Regions from separate parts of the Homo sapiens genome. Here regions 1, 2, 3 and 5 are each linked to region 4. The links are contacts of gene promoters, found by promoter capture Hi-C in blood cells and fetal thymus (Javierre and others, 2016). All regions are on one chromosome and are shown on one strand. The core of a region is centred on a gene start or on the middle of the fragment in contact, and the rest is flanking DNA. Distances in the headings are between cores, read along the strand shown.

The links. Contacts are between HindIII fragments. The CHiCAGO score rates a contact against its expected background, and 5 or more counts as called.
Region 1: a fragment that was not itself captured here is called in contact with the fragment with the promoter of PGGT1B in region 4 in 9 of 17 cell types (M2 macrophages, naive B cells, naive CD8 T cells and 6 more); the score reaches 7.0 in M2 macrophages.
Region 2: a contact is called between a fragment that was not itself captured here and the fragment with the promoter of PGGT1B in region 4, in 1 of 17 cell types (non-activated CD4 T cells). The highest score is 5.9, in non-activated CD4 T cells.
Region 3: a contact is called between a fragment that was not itself captured here and the fragment with the promoter of PGGT1B in region 4, in 4 of 17 cell types (non-activated CD4 T cells, monocytes, activated CD4 T cells and 1 more). The highest score is 7.2, in non-activated CD4 T cells.
Region 5: a contact is called between a fragment that was not itself captured here and the fragment with the promoter of PGGT1B in region 4, in 1 of 17 cell types (activated CD4 T cells). The highest score is 5.6, in activated CD4 T cells.

The regions. Positions count from the first base shown.
Region 1 is chr5:115,582,261-115,584,960 of GRCh38, forward strand. All of the region lies in intron 3 of TMED7-TICAM2 (TMED7-TICAM2 readthrough), which reads right to left. All of the region lies in intron 1 of TICAM2 (TIR domain containing adaptor molecule 2), which reads right to left. Among named protein-coding and RNA genes, the nearest start is that of TICAM2-AS1, 19 kb to the right of the region's middle. The HindIII fragment of the contact is 7,881 bases long and covers 1-2,700 here.
Region 2 is chr5:115,565,836-115,568,535 of GRCh38, forward strand. No RefSeq gene overlaps it. Among named protein-coding and RNA genes, the nearest start is that of FEM1C, 22 kb to the left of the region's middle. The HindIII fragment of the contact is 3,777 bases long and covers 1-2,700 here.
Region 3 is chr5:115,548,050-115,550,749 of GRCh38, forward strand. No RefSeq gene overlaps it. Among named protein-coding and RNA genes, the nearest start is that of FEM1C, 4.6 kb to the left of the region's middle. The HindIII fragment of the contact is 7,329 bases long and covers 1-2,700 here.
Region 4 is chr5:115,261,472-115,264,171 of GRCh38, forward strand. It overlaps PGGT1B (protein geranylgeranyltransferase type I subunit beta), which reads right to left and starts at 1,406. Exons shown (of 9, transcript NM_005023.4): 1 at 1,241-1,406. The coding sequence starts at 1,380. RefSeq lists enhancers at 1,265-1,444, 1,475-1,524. The HindIII fragment of the contact is 10,345 bases long and covers 1-2,700 here.
Region 5 is chr5:115,523,389-115,526,088 of GRCh38, forward strand. FEM1C (fem-1 homolog C) reads right to left here. Exons shown (of 3, transcript NM_020177.3): 3 at 1-2,229. The coding sequence ends at 920. Among named protein-coding and RNA genes, the nearest start is that of FEM1C, 20 kb to the right of the region's middle. The HindIII fragment of the contact is 2,106 bases long and covers 220-2,325 here.

The sequences.
Region 1 (2,700 bases), core at 168-2,667, 320 kb after region 4:
ATACTCCCACCTCAGCTTCTGGAGTAGCTGGGACTACAGGTACATGCCACACACCTGGCTAATTTTTTTTTTTTTTGGTTTTTTTTTTTTTTTGGTAGAGATGGGGTTTCATATGTTGCCCAGGCTGGTCTCGAACTCCTGGGCTCAAGCAATCCTCCCGCCTCAGCCTCTCAAAGCTCTGGGATTACAGGTATGAGCTACCACGTCTGGCCTAGACTCATTCTTTTATTTAAAAAAATTCTAAATTCAGAGTGGAAGAACTAGATCAACTGTGAAAGAAAAGTATACCATGTGAATCTAATTTAAATAAGTCTTCAGAAAACATTGGCAATATTCCTAATAAAATCCCCCAGACAGGCAGTTTCAAGGGGAATTCTTTTATTAAAAGACAGAACATTTAGAATATATAAATACAGGTTTCATACTTTCAAATGTGAGCCACAGACTATATTCCAGAGCATTTCTACTTGTTCTTTATGGGCAAAGGCCATACCTCAAGAAGAAATTATAACATTCATAACAACATAAGTAACATGGCTACATATGCCTACATAATTCAGGTTTAGAAGAAACTGTTCAACAAAAGTGGTGAAAACTGTCATGGGAACAAAAACCAAGGAAAAAAACAGAGAATTTCATTCAATGTATGTGAGTAAAAATGTTTGCAGCTGCCTCTGACTAGTGAGGAAACTGCTGACCACTCCGTCATTCACTCTGTCTGTACTTTAGGTTCTCGCTCCACGGTATATTGTGCTAGTTACCAAGAGGTATTCTAAGGCATAATAACTCTAAAATGTGACATATATCCATCCAAAATAATAAAACCAAATTAATTTGGACTCTCTTCATTGATTAGGATTCACTGCTGACTTTTGTTACTGCATCGTAAAAAAAAAGGGTTTTGCTATGCAAAGTTGCAGAAAGAAGTTTCCCCTGAATGAGAAAACAATAGTTAAACCATCCAGAGGCATCTATTTACTGTCAATTAAAATGATCTACACTTATCACTGAATTCAACACCATTATCTTAGTCACTAGCCGGTAAGACAAGTGCTTTGAAGGAATATAACAGCTATTTATAAAGAATATGAAAAACTTCTAGGGTAAGATAGTGTGTCAAGGCAGATCACAAAATCTTTTAAAATAAAAACAAAGAATTACAACTTCGACTTATTTTTCTTAAATACCAGTTAGCAAAAAAGAGCAAAAGACTTCAGAAATCTATGATGTGTTCCAACTTCCAAGCAGTGTCACCCACCTAATCAGACCGAGAGAAAAAAACTAGTGGCAATGTCTATAAAACTTTACCATCATCTTCTAATCTGGAGGGAGGGAGTAAGGAGACTGCCAAGGGAACAAGCTGTGGAAAGTTGTGCTGTTCCCACCACCACTGTGACTCAGACATGGAGAGATGGTCAGGATTCCTTAGTGCACTGTGGTTCCCAGGGCTGGGAGGAAGTGAGAGGACACGACTGTGCTTCACTGTTGGCCAGTTAACTCCATCAGTAAAAAGGGCTCTACTGGAACAAAGGAAAGGCATGGCGTGGTGAAGGAAATCTGGGGAAGGTTGGCCAAAGGAATCCTGGAAAGCCTCCTTTAAAGTTCTCCTCCTCCATCAGAACAATGAACACCAGGCTTAAAAAATTTAGGTTTCACCTCCTTGCTTCAGCTAAATGGAAGGAGAGTGAGGGTGCCACTTGGGAGACGCATGTGAGACCACTGTTCATAAAAATTAAAATGTGTATGTATATACATTTTCATTTACTTTTTTTAAAAAAAGGTGGTGGTGTGTCTCCATCCATCCTGTTACTTATTCCCATGGTCTCCTGCTGGTGACCACTTTTATCAGTTTCTCCTGCATCTTTCCACTGTTTCTCTATGAATATATATTCTTATTTTTCTTTCCTTTTTTCAAAAATGTCCCAAAATTCAAACAAGGATATTTTGAAAGAATATTCTTGTTATTCTTTCCTTTTCAAAAAAAGTATCATTATTCATATGTATACATGACATATAAATCCCAAACAGCAGTGGATAAACATTAGTATACATTGCTTTTTCCCTTTATATCTTCAGAGCTTTCCGTAACAGCGCATAGAGAACTTCTTCTTATTTACAACTACATAATCATGCAGCATGTGGCTATCCCATAATCATTCCCTGTTCTTGGATATGTGAGTTGTTTCCAGTCTACTACTAGGACAAACTATGCTGCAATGGATAATTCTGTACAAAAAGCATTTCATATGTGTGCAAGTTTATCTATAGAACAATTCCCCCAATGGGATTTCCATTTGTAACAGTGATTCATTTGGTCAAATTGCTCTCCGTAGGGCTGAGCCTTTTTTAAAAAAACTTATAACTTGATAGAATGACACCCCAACTCTATCCCTTGCCCCAGAAAAGACATAAGAGAAAAACTACCAATTACTGTTGACCAAAGCCCAACAGAGTGAATCATATCCATCCCCTCAGGCAACAGAAATGTGAAGAAACATAATCAATCCAAATGGTACCCTTAAACTAAAGTTCTGAAGGGAAGATCAATAGGCCTGAGATAAGAAGGAAGGAGAGTCCAGAATTTATCCACTTCATATCTATGCAAAAGAGGACCCCAGTAGAATTCTCTATATTAAACAGAAGAGGAATGAAAAAAACAACATGGCAAATATGCTATGGTGAATATGTAAAATATTACAG
Region 2 (2,700 bases), core at 49-2,548, 300 kb after region 4:
CTAGATCCCAGAATGATAGAGCCACTGGCAGCTAACCCCCTGCACCCAGAAAAGTAGGCACTGAACAACCTGTGAGACCGGCTGTAGGTTCTGAATCCTGAAAAGCCACAGCGTTGGGGCTGCCCAAGGCCTTGGGAGCCCATTTCTTGCACCAGTGTACCTTGTATGTGGGACATGATATCAAAGGAGATTATTTTGGAGCTTTAAGATTTAATGTCTGCCTTGCTGGGTTTCAGACTTCATGGAAACTGAAGCCCCTTTCTTTTGGCCTATTTCTCCCTTTTGGAATGGGGATGTTTACTCAATGCCTGTACTCTCATTGTATATTGGAAATAAATAACTTGGTTTTGATTTTGCAGGCTTATAGGTAGAAGGAACTTGCCTTGTGTCAGATGAGATTTTGGACTTTGGACTTTTGAGTTAATGCTGGAATGAGTTAAGTCTTTAGGGGACTACTGGGAAGGCATGATTGTATTTTGCAATGTGAGAAGGACATGTGATTTGGGGGGCCAGGGGTGGAATGATATAGTTTGAATGTATGTCCCTGTCAAATCTTATTTGAATTGTAATGAAGTTGTAATGAATTGTAATGAGTTGAATTGTAATCCCTAATGTTGAAGGTGGAGCCAAATGGGAGGTATTTGGGTCATGGGGGCAGATCCCTTTTAGCTTGGTGCTATTCTTGCAATTATTAGTGAGTATTCACGAGATCTGGGTAAGTAAGTGGCACCTTTCTGACTGCTCCTGCTCCTGCTTTACCTTCTGCCGTGAGTAAAAGCTCCTTGAGGCTTCCCCAGAAGCTGGGCAGATGCTGGAGCCATGCTTGTACAACCTGCAGAACTATTAGCAAATTAAACCTCTTTTCTTTATGAATTACCCAGTCTCAGGTATTTATTGCAATACAACAATGCCTTACTAGTAATGATCAAAAGCTACAAAATAAACACCATGCTTGGAAGACTTTGACCAAGAATATTAAAATAGCCTCTATTATTAAGCAGCTACTATATGCCAGTATTGTACTTAGTGTTTTACACAATTTAGCTCATCTAAAACTCAGTACATTTGGTTTACCTAGGAGTAATAGAATGTTCAATTAAAAGTGGCTTAAATACTGAATAAATTTAGTGTTTCACATAATTCCATGATGTTATTGGCTCAGTGATGTCAAAAAGGACTCCTTCACTTACCATTTTTCTGCATCTTATCCTCAGTGTGTTCGTGACATCTTCATTTTAGATTACAAGTTGGCTAGAGTAGTCTCAGGTTTCACACGACTATATGTAATGAAAGTAGATTTCTAGCATCTCTTTTTATTAGAGAGGAAATGTTTCTCCTGCTGATTTCTCCCTTCGGACCCCAATGGCCAGGACTATGTCATGTTGTATTCAGGCCCTAGCTGCAAGAGCAACTGGGATCATGAGGATCTGGAATTTTCAGCCATAGTAATTGGAGGTGAGCTCCATTGGCAAGGAGTAAGGAGGGCAGGAGGGGTAACTCTTAGGTAGGAAGCCAACAGCATCATGCACAGGGGCTACCGTTATCCTCATTTTACAAAGGAGAAAACTGAATCTTAGACAGGTTATGTAATTTACCAACAATTACTCAGCTAGAACATGTGGTATTACAATCCAAATGCAGCTCTGTAGAATTCCAATGCCCAAACTCTTTAAGGACTTAGACTCCAAGTCAGATGGACCCAGGTTTACATCTCAACTCTGCCTCTTTTCATTGATGACTTTGATTTTTTATTTGTAAAAAGAAATTATTGTATTATCTATTTCGTTGGAATATGGTGATGATTAAATTCATAATGTATAGGTAGATCTAAAGTCCTGGCACTGATATTACTGTTGTCATCATCATCTATCAGCAGGAGCAACATTATTACCCGACTCCACTGGATGAAATTTCTAGGTTATCTTTCAGAGTCCAGTTGTTCTTTTCCCATCTTTCATAACACCTCGTATATGGAATTTACTTTGTTACTATGTCCATACTCTAACTTGGATTTTGGTTTTCACTCATATAGCTCCTTGAAGGCAGGGACGATGTCTTATTTATTTTTATATCTTCAGCCTGTTGTACAATGAATGATGCATAGTATGTGCTCAATAAAATATTTTGCATGAAGCTGTAGGTGAGGGTAGGAATAGCACTATAGCGCAACAATTGGGAGCTATAAATTCTATTCCCAATATTAGAGGAATCATCACATTCCAGAAAAACATTTGATTACAAATACATTATACAGGAAGGTCTACGATGACAGGCTTAGCATTTAAACAGCTATGTATTTTCTTTTTTTTTTTAGACGGAGTTTCGCTCGTCACCCAGGCTGGAGTGCAATGGCATGATCTTGGCTCACCACAACCTCCACCTCCTGGGTTCAAGCGATTCTCCTGCCTCAGCCTCCCAAGTAGCTGGGATTACAGGCACACACCACCAAGCCCAGCTAATTTTGTATTTTTAGTAGAGACAGGGTTACTCCATGTTGGTCAGGCTGGTCTCGAACTCCCGACCTCATGTGATCCTCCCGCCTCGGCCTCCCAAAGTGCTGGGATTACTGGCGTGAGCCACCACACCTGGCCAACAGCTATATATTAAAAAAAAAAAAAGTTTTTTTTATTCTCCCCAAACTCCAAAATGAAGGGCTACTATTATATAAACCTCTTTCTTTCATTTTAAACCTTGGTGTAC
Region 3 (2,700 bases), core at 115-2,614, 290 kb after region 4:
ACCTCTGCCTCCCAGGTTCAAGCAATTATCCCTGCCTCAGCCTCCTGAGTAGCTGGGATTACAGGTGCCTGCCACCACGCCCAGTTAATTTTTGTATTTTTTAGTAGAGACGGGGTTTCGCCATGTTGGCCAGGCTGGTCTTGAACTCCTGACCTCAGGTGATCCACCCACCTTGGTCTCCCAAAATGCTGGGATAACAGGCATGAGCCACTGTGCCTGGCTTTTATATGTATTTTCATTGCAGAGAAATATAATAGAGTGATTCATAAAACACATTCAGCTAGGCATAGTGGCTCACGCCTGTAATCCCAGCATTTTGGGAGGCCCAGGCAGGAGGATTGCTTGAGCCCAGAAGTTCAAGACCAGGCTGGGCAACAGAGTGAGACCCTGTCTCTACAAAAAACTTAAAAATTAGCCAAGCATGGAAGTACATGCTTGCAGTCCCAGCTACTCCAGAGGCTGAGGTGGGAGGATCACTTGAGCCTGGGAGGTTGAGGCTTCAGTGAGCTGTGATTGCACCACTGCAGTCTAGCCTAGGTAACAGAGCGAGATACTGTCTCAAAAACAAAAACAAAAAACATATTCAAACATAAAAGTACATTAATTAGGATATATTCCTGAGGAATGGGATGTGGAATGGAATTATAAATGCGAAGAGAAAATAAATTATGTAAAAATATCCTATAGGTAAATAATAATTTGTTCATATATTTTTTTAAATGGTTCATAGTAAGCATAACTGCTATGATATTTAGATTTCGTTGGATTCATTTAAAAGCATGTTTTATTTAAAAATGTTAATTTTTACATTTTGCGGAAAATTGCAACCTTTGCGAATACTTAAACTTATGATGAAAAATTTTAGGTGACAATTGAAAAATATGTAGGAGGGTAGATAGCATCTCATGTGCATGAGTAAAAATGTTTGAAGACTTAATTGAAATGTTTGGAGACTTATTCACAACCCCCTATTGGAAGTCATTTCCATTTCTAAAGAACATTTGTTCTTCCAATCTTTGATTTTTTTTTTCTTAAATAGAAAATCAACTAAATTTCCTTTTATATAGATTTTACATTGTGTTTCTAAATGCCCACCTCTTTTCTACCTTCCATCAATGGGAGGGACAACTTTTTTGTTTGGTTTGGTTGGTTTGCTTTGGATTGGTTTGGTTATTAAGACTTTGATGTCTGGTTAAATCAGCAATTACTGTCTTCCTGAAAGCCACAGAATGCTACTGGGGCATAACAGGAAGACTCATTTTTAAGGGGTCTGTAGGGGGAGCCAAAGACTGGAAAAGGGGAAAGGGACCAGAGACAGCCTCTGAATTACCCATTCAGGTAAGTACCCAGAGATGACAGACAAAAAGGGGAACCACTTCCGGGAGCCAAGGTGAATATTCAGGCTTCCCCGACGGGGGAGCAAAGTGTTACTTGCATCCAGAGCATTTCCCTAGGCCCAAGGCTTTATAATGTAAGCCCAGAGGAGACATTACCCCTTACCTGAAAGGCTGATGGGGAGGAGGAATTGGATCAGCAAAAAGGGGACACCCTAATTATAGAACAATGAACATTTTCAGGCCTATAAGTTGTTTTCTTCTTCTCACATATTGCCTTGGGATAAATTTCCAAGAGTTGGATTACAGAATGTCTTTTTGGCTTTTCATATACATTGTTATACTATTTCCTAGAAGACTTAGACCAATCTGTCACCACCAGCAAGGCACTATTGACTTCACCAAACATTGAACCCACTTGATATTATATTTTTTGAAAATTCTTACTGGTTTTGTATGTGTTAAATGATACCGCCAAGTTTCCCAAATTTACCTGGCTACCCTTGGGATTTTTTTGGTCTGTGCAATATCCTTGAATTAGTAGAACATTCCTTCTATAGTATTCCTTCTGGGGATTGTCAAACATTTAATTCCTGCCAGTCTATATTTAAACCAGAAACCTCAGTGAAACAGTTTGCTTGCACGGTTTTGGTATACTTTGGTAACTTGTTCTAATTTGAGAAATGGCCAGGATGAATTTTTTTTAAATCTCTAGTTTTTGGTAACTAACTGGGCATAGTTCTATTTAGAAAAGTATGAAAAGAATCTACTTTCATGAATTTAAAAGTTACACAAAAATAGCATAGCAAGGTGTACGCTTCTTGTGCTATTTAGAAATGTCTTTCTCATATAAGTCCGCTTTATTAACACTGATAATTTGCTCAAGGTGAGATATTTTAATTGTCATAAATTCATTCACCACCTTAAAAATTATTGAATCCTGGAATCCCAGCACTTTGGGAGGTCTAGGCTGTCAGACTGCTTGAGCTCAGGAGTTCAAGACCAGTCTGGGCAACATAGCAAAACTCCATTTCTACAAAAAATACAAAAATTAGGCAGGCATGGTGATGCACACCTGTAGTCCCAGCTACTCAGGAGGGTGAGGTGAGAGGATGGCTTGAGTCTGGGAAGCGGAGGTTGCAGTGAGCTGAGATTGCGCCACTGCACTCCAGCCTGAGTGACAGAGCCAGACCCTGTCTAAAAACAAAACAAAACAACAACAAAAAAAACCCCAATAAAACAAAGTTATGGAATCCTATTATGTACTATGTTAGATACTGGATGAATATGACATAATCTCTACTTTTGAGGAATTGATGGTCTGTAGGAGAAATGTAGCTATAAACAGATGAAAACAAAATATGTG
Region 4 (2,700 bases), core at 156-2,655:
TATGGCAACTGGGTACTTGAAATGTGGTGGCTACTACCAAAAGAATCACTTAATTTTTAATTTGATTTAATTAATTCAAATCAAAATAGCCAAATGTGGCTAGTGGCTACCAGATTGGACAGGGCAGCCCAGTCCTAAGTATAGAGGTAAACAAGATAGACGAAAATGTTACCTTTGTGAAGTTTATAATCCAGTGTAATAGAAAGACATTAAACAAATAAACCAATACATACGTAATGTGAGGTGGTCATTGGAAGTGGTCCCTTTAGGAAGGGTGTTTAAGGAAGGCCTCTCTAAAGATATCTGGATTATGTACATGCCTGTCTATATACTCCTATGAACACTACACTAACATATAGCACAGAACTCTATACAAATGCTTGTCTTGTTCAGCTGTACTCTGGCACCTACCATAATGTGGTTCTTGACCAAGTGTGCAGAAGTAATCTGCAAAGCTCCCCAAACTGATCCGGTCATGCAGTGTTCAAAATACACCAGCAACTCAGAATTTGGAAAACGTGGGGAAAGAACACAGCAAAAACAAGCCGCTCTTTCCTCCCATCCAGTCTCAAGCAGCTTTTGAGCTTCACTTCAAAACACAGCAATGCGGAGCAAAGATTGCCTTCTCCTTTCTTTCTTCTCATCCCCAGCTTTTACTGTAAATGAAGTCGCTTAGTCTCTGCCGCACCACACTCTTCAGCTATTGCGATACTTTTAACAGGCTGCTTCACGCAACACCACACCTCTTTCGCCTACCATTAGATTTATAGTTCCCACAAAGTTTCTAAGACCTTAGAGGTTCTCTGCCGCTCCTACACATAAAACACCATACAGACACTCTATTAAGAGTTAATGACTTTAGAGAGGACAAGGATGCACAGAAGTATTCATCTAAAAATACGACGACAAACTTTGTCCTTTTCCTTTTACACTCGGAAGTAATGAGGCAAAGTGACAGGCTATGGGAGCGGGTAAAAAAGCAGCTCAGAGTTGCCAGAAGAAAAGGGAAGTGAAAAAGCCGGAAACTGGAGATGCCACAGCCCTCGACCTACAGCCTTCCAGACCTTCCCACCGTACGGCGGGAGAGTGGGGGTAACCTCAAGCCCACTTGAAACCAGTCAGTGCCAACTGGGCGGCCGCGCAGCCCCCTTCCGGCGCCCAGTTTGCGGTCCGACTCCGCCGCGCCTTTCCGCTGGAGCCCGGGCCTTGTGCCAGCCTGGCTGACTGTGCCACGAGTTACCTGCTTGTCTCGAGTGAAGAATAGCGCTCCGGCAAAACCTGGAGGCAGCGCTGGAAAAATCGCACGTGCCGATCCCGTAAGAAATCCAGCCGCTCTCCCTCACCGCTCCCTGCTAGCCTCTCATCCTCAGTGGCCGCCATGCTGCTCCGGAAGCGACGTCCGCCGCGACCCGGAATCAGTGCCCGCGGAGAGAAAGAACCCTCCTGTGCTGAACCACAGGGTGCCGGGTGAGGGGACCTGCGCCCGCCGCAGACTAAGCCAGTATTTGAAACCGCTATCATCTGGGTCCTGTGCAGCACTTCCTCTCTCCGATATCTCCCTAGCTAGCGCATGACCCTACCTTTTCTACTCAAAGCCCTCGAGGCTTGTAAACACCTCGCAGGCCTTGTGAAAATCAAGTCCACAAATCCCTCCGTCAGAATTTTTATCTTGGGAAGCGCAAGGTCAAAAGCATCAAGTACGCTTTGAGACAATTCTGGCTCTGTAGAACCTGAGGATGGTATATCTGAAAACGAGGATGGATCAGTATAAACTTGCTAACAGATTCATTTTTGGAGGGCCAGTTTTAAGCCGAACGGTTAGGGAAACAGAAAAACAAACCAGTGGAGATAAATGTTTATTGACACTACAAAAGCTCAGAGACTTTCCTAATCTTAATCCTTTCTGGATACCAGGAATCACTTAAAAATCTGTGTATAATGCCCCCAAACATATACAACATGCATATTCATACCTATATATGACTGCTTGCGTCATTCTTTTACAAATCTTACAGATTTTACTTTGCTTGAGTCGACGTGTTATCAAGAATCAATGGTGCATCAATCTGCAACAGCAAAATAAGCTCAATATCTTCTCCAATTACCTGCATTCTAAAAAATTTAAACATGCTTCTAGTTCTTTTTTCCAAAAATAGGGATTTAAGTTGTTTAGCCGGTATACTATGCCCTTTAAACTTTCATGAGGCATTCCTGAGTAGCGGGTGGGGGGATCCACCCAATAATATAACTAAACTAGGTTCCCTGTGATCAACTTAGCTAATAAAATTTTGGGTTTAATTTTGTTAGCTTTCTTAGAAAATGTAATTCTTATACTCTATGGGCTGGGGTAATCTTACACTTATTCAACAATCCAAAGTGCTCTGAATAATTTTTGGTACTATTAACTACTTATTCACAGGTATTCCTGCATGTCTTTACAAAATGCCGCATTTAACAGCCACAGACGGATTCTAGGCTGTCCTCGGTACTTCCCTACAAATACGGAGCTCACAGTCCTTGCCCTTCAGGTGTGCCCAGTCTGGAGTTTCCACTGTTATTAAAATTAAGATCTCTCACTTAGCACACATACCCCCAAATGCCTGAAGATTTTTAAAGTGGAGTCTTATACACATTTAACTTACTGGAATCAGCTATGGACACTCTATACATTCTCAGAAAATTAATTCTAATAAACATGGC
Region 5 (2,700 bases), core at 23-2,522, 260 kb after region 4:
TCAGCACAAGCAGGACAATGCTGGAGCAGCATGAAAGGTGGGTCACTTTAAAAAGATTCTTCCTTTTACTGCATGATATATTAAGATGACAGACCTAAATTTCAACTGGGTTAATGAGTTAGAATAGATCTGTTTCCCAAATTTAGCACACAATAATTTCAGTGGATTAGAGAAAGAAACCTCAGATGTGAAGAAAGTGAAGAAAAAAACAAACAAAAAAGCTTGAGCTATAATAGCTAACCTGCAGCTCTAAAAATTGTCATGCTACAGAGTACTTTCAAAAAATTAAGTTTGTAACAAACATAAGAAAACAGTGTTTTGAGTTGAAGTTGACCAACTGCTGCATAGAAAATATGCTAACATACAACAGTCAAGTTTAAGCCTGTGCATAGAGAAGATAAAGCACTTATGGTAACTGCAAATGGTAACGAGTCCTTAAGGTTTGTACAACCTAGTATGGGTCCATAAGGAAAAAACTGTAGTAGAAATGGTTAGGACAAACAATAAAGTAGAAACAGGGGGGAAACTTGAGAAGAGAAGAAAGAAGCAAGAAAAAAAGACTTTCAATTGTATAAAATTCACAAACCAGTAAAGTATAAAGACACCATGGAGAAATGGTTAACTCTGCCCCAAACACCCAACAGCAAACAAAACCAGAATGAATAAGCCTTTGGCAGACAATTTTAGAAATTTGAATGTTACATTTCTCAATAATTCACAAACAATATATTATATGGTATATTTATATTAAATATTGGGAAACCAATGTTGTAAATTTGATGCTTATAATGCTTTAGCCAATGAGAGCACAATGATATCAATCAAGCTAAATGAATGCTGGTGTTATCACAACAGTGCTCATTTATGAAACAACTGTTACCAATTCGTGCTTTAACAGTGCTAAAATACAGTCAAGTTATCATCTATGAAGGGAAACAAAAGTCTCTAGCTTTTCTGGGATATGCCCTTTATAATATATTCTATGATTCACTATGACACGAGCAGCAAGACACTGCAATGTGGTATGATTTATAGGCTGGATTAAATTTTTAGCTATTTCCTTCTCATCCAGCAAGTCACTAGCAGTTTGTTTGTGCAAGTTTGTGGCATCAAAATGTGCACCTGATTTAATAAGGAGATTCATGATGTCTGGATGGTTGTTAAGAGCAGCGATATGCAGGGGACTGTTGTCATCCGAGTCTCTGACGTTCACATCAGCACCACATTCTATCAGTATTGCAGTAACTTGTAGAGATGGAAATTTACAAACAGGGTACCGCCCTACACATGTAGTATTCTTGTCCACAGCCAGATGAAGAGGGCTGAAGTTATTCTTTCCCCTTGGATGCAGCTTAAGAAACCTGTATATAGTCTGCTTTTTGAAATGGTCTTGTTCTAGAGTACAAGGAACTTTCTCTAACAAGCAAATTAAGTGCAAAATAATAGAAAGGGCCTTATTTAACTGTAATGGGTCAGCTGGACACTGAGTTTGTTTGATAGCTCGCTCTATTTCAAGGACGCTTTTGCAAAGTATGCCCATAAGATCATCAAATGTAACAGTAGTACCCAGCAGGCCTTTAGCCCTATCCTGTAGCATAAAGGAGAATAGTTCTGCAAAAGATAATAAGCTGCTGGCGGTCATTGGGCTTAAAGGATCCAAATTGCTCTGCTGCATATCCAAAGCATACTTCCATAGGTTGATGCATCGTTTGAAATTTCCAGAGTCTGCATAGACAGCGCCTCTATATCTAATATAGTAAGAGGTATCAGGATGAGAAGGACCAAGAATACGTTCTCTGATTAATAGTGCCTGCATTCTCATCTCATCAGGATCAGCAATAAGACCTTCTAGCTCTTCTGCACTGTTCACTTCCTTGGCATAATCATAAGCCATTATTAGTGTCTGTGGCACTGGTTTACTAATAATATTAGTCCTATCACTGTACCTCATGTTCATTGCCTTTTTCCAGTATTTCAAAGCCCCAAGCAGATCTCTTTTTTTGTCTACAAATGTAGCTCCCAGAAGCTCTAGAGCATTAATACGTTCTGTCTTGCTGGTCTGTGCATGGTGTGTCAGAAAATCCACAATATTTGTGTGACCAGTCACACTTGCTGAGAGAAGGGGAGTCATTCCATAACCATCCTTTTCCATCTTGGCACAATACATAAGAAGCATCTTCATGATGTCCAAACTTCCAGATTCTGCACAATCATGCAATGCAGTATTACCTTAAAGAGAGAGAGAAAAAAAGAAATAACATACATTGAGGGACCAAAATATAATGTAATATATATATGCACTTTAGAACCTAAAGAAAAGCAGGAAGCTTTAAGTTCCTAAGTAGGACATACTTGGTTTACAAACGAGAAAAAAAAATTCCCCCAGTACCTAAAACTAGTATCTGATATTAAACTTATTGAATAAATGACATGACCAAATTAGGTGTAAAAAGACATCCAAAGTCACCAGAAGAAATTCAAACTAATCCATGGTCTCTTCGTATTTTTCATTAATGTTTTAAAGTGCATATTTTATTATCTAAAAATCGGTAGAATACAAATAACCAGCTATTCACCATTTTACTGACAAGTCACTTAACTTCCAGGTCAGTTTCCACATTTATAAACAAGGAATTGGTCTTTTTTTTTTTCTTTAGAGACCAGGTCTTGCTATGTTGCCCAGGCTGGTTTTAAACTCCT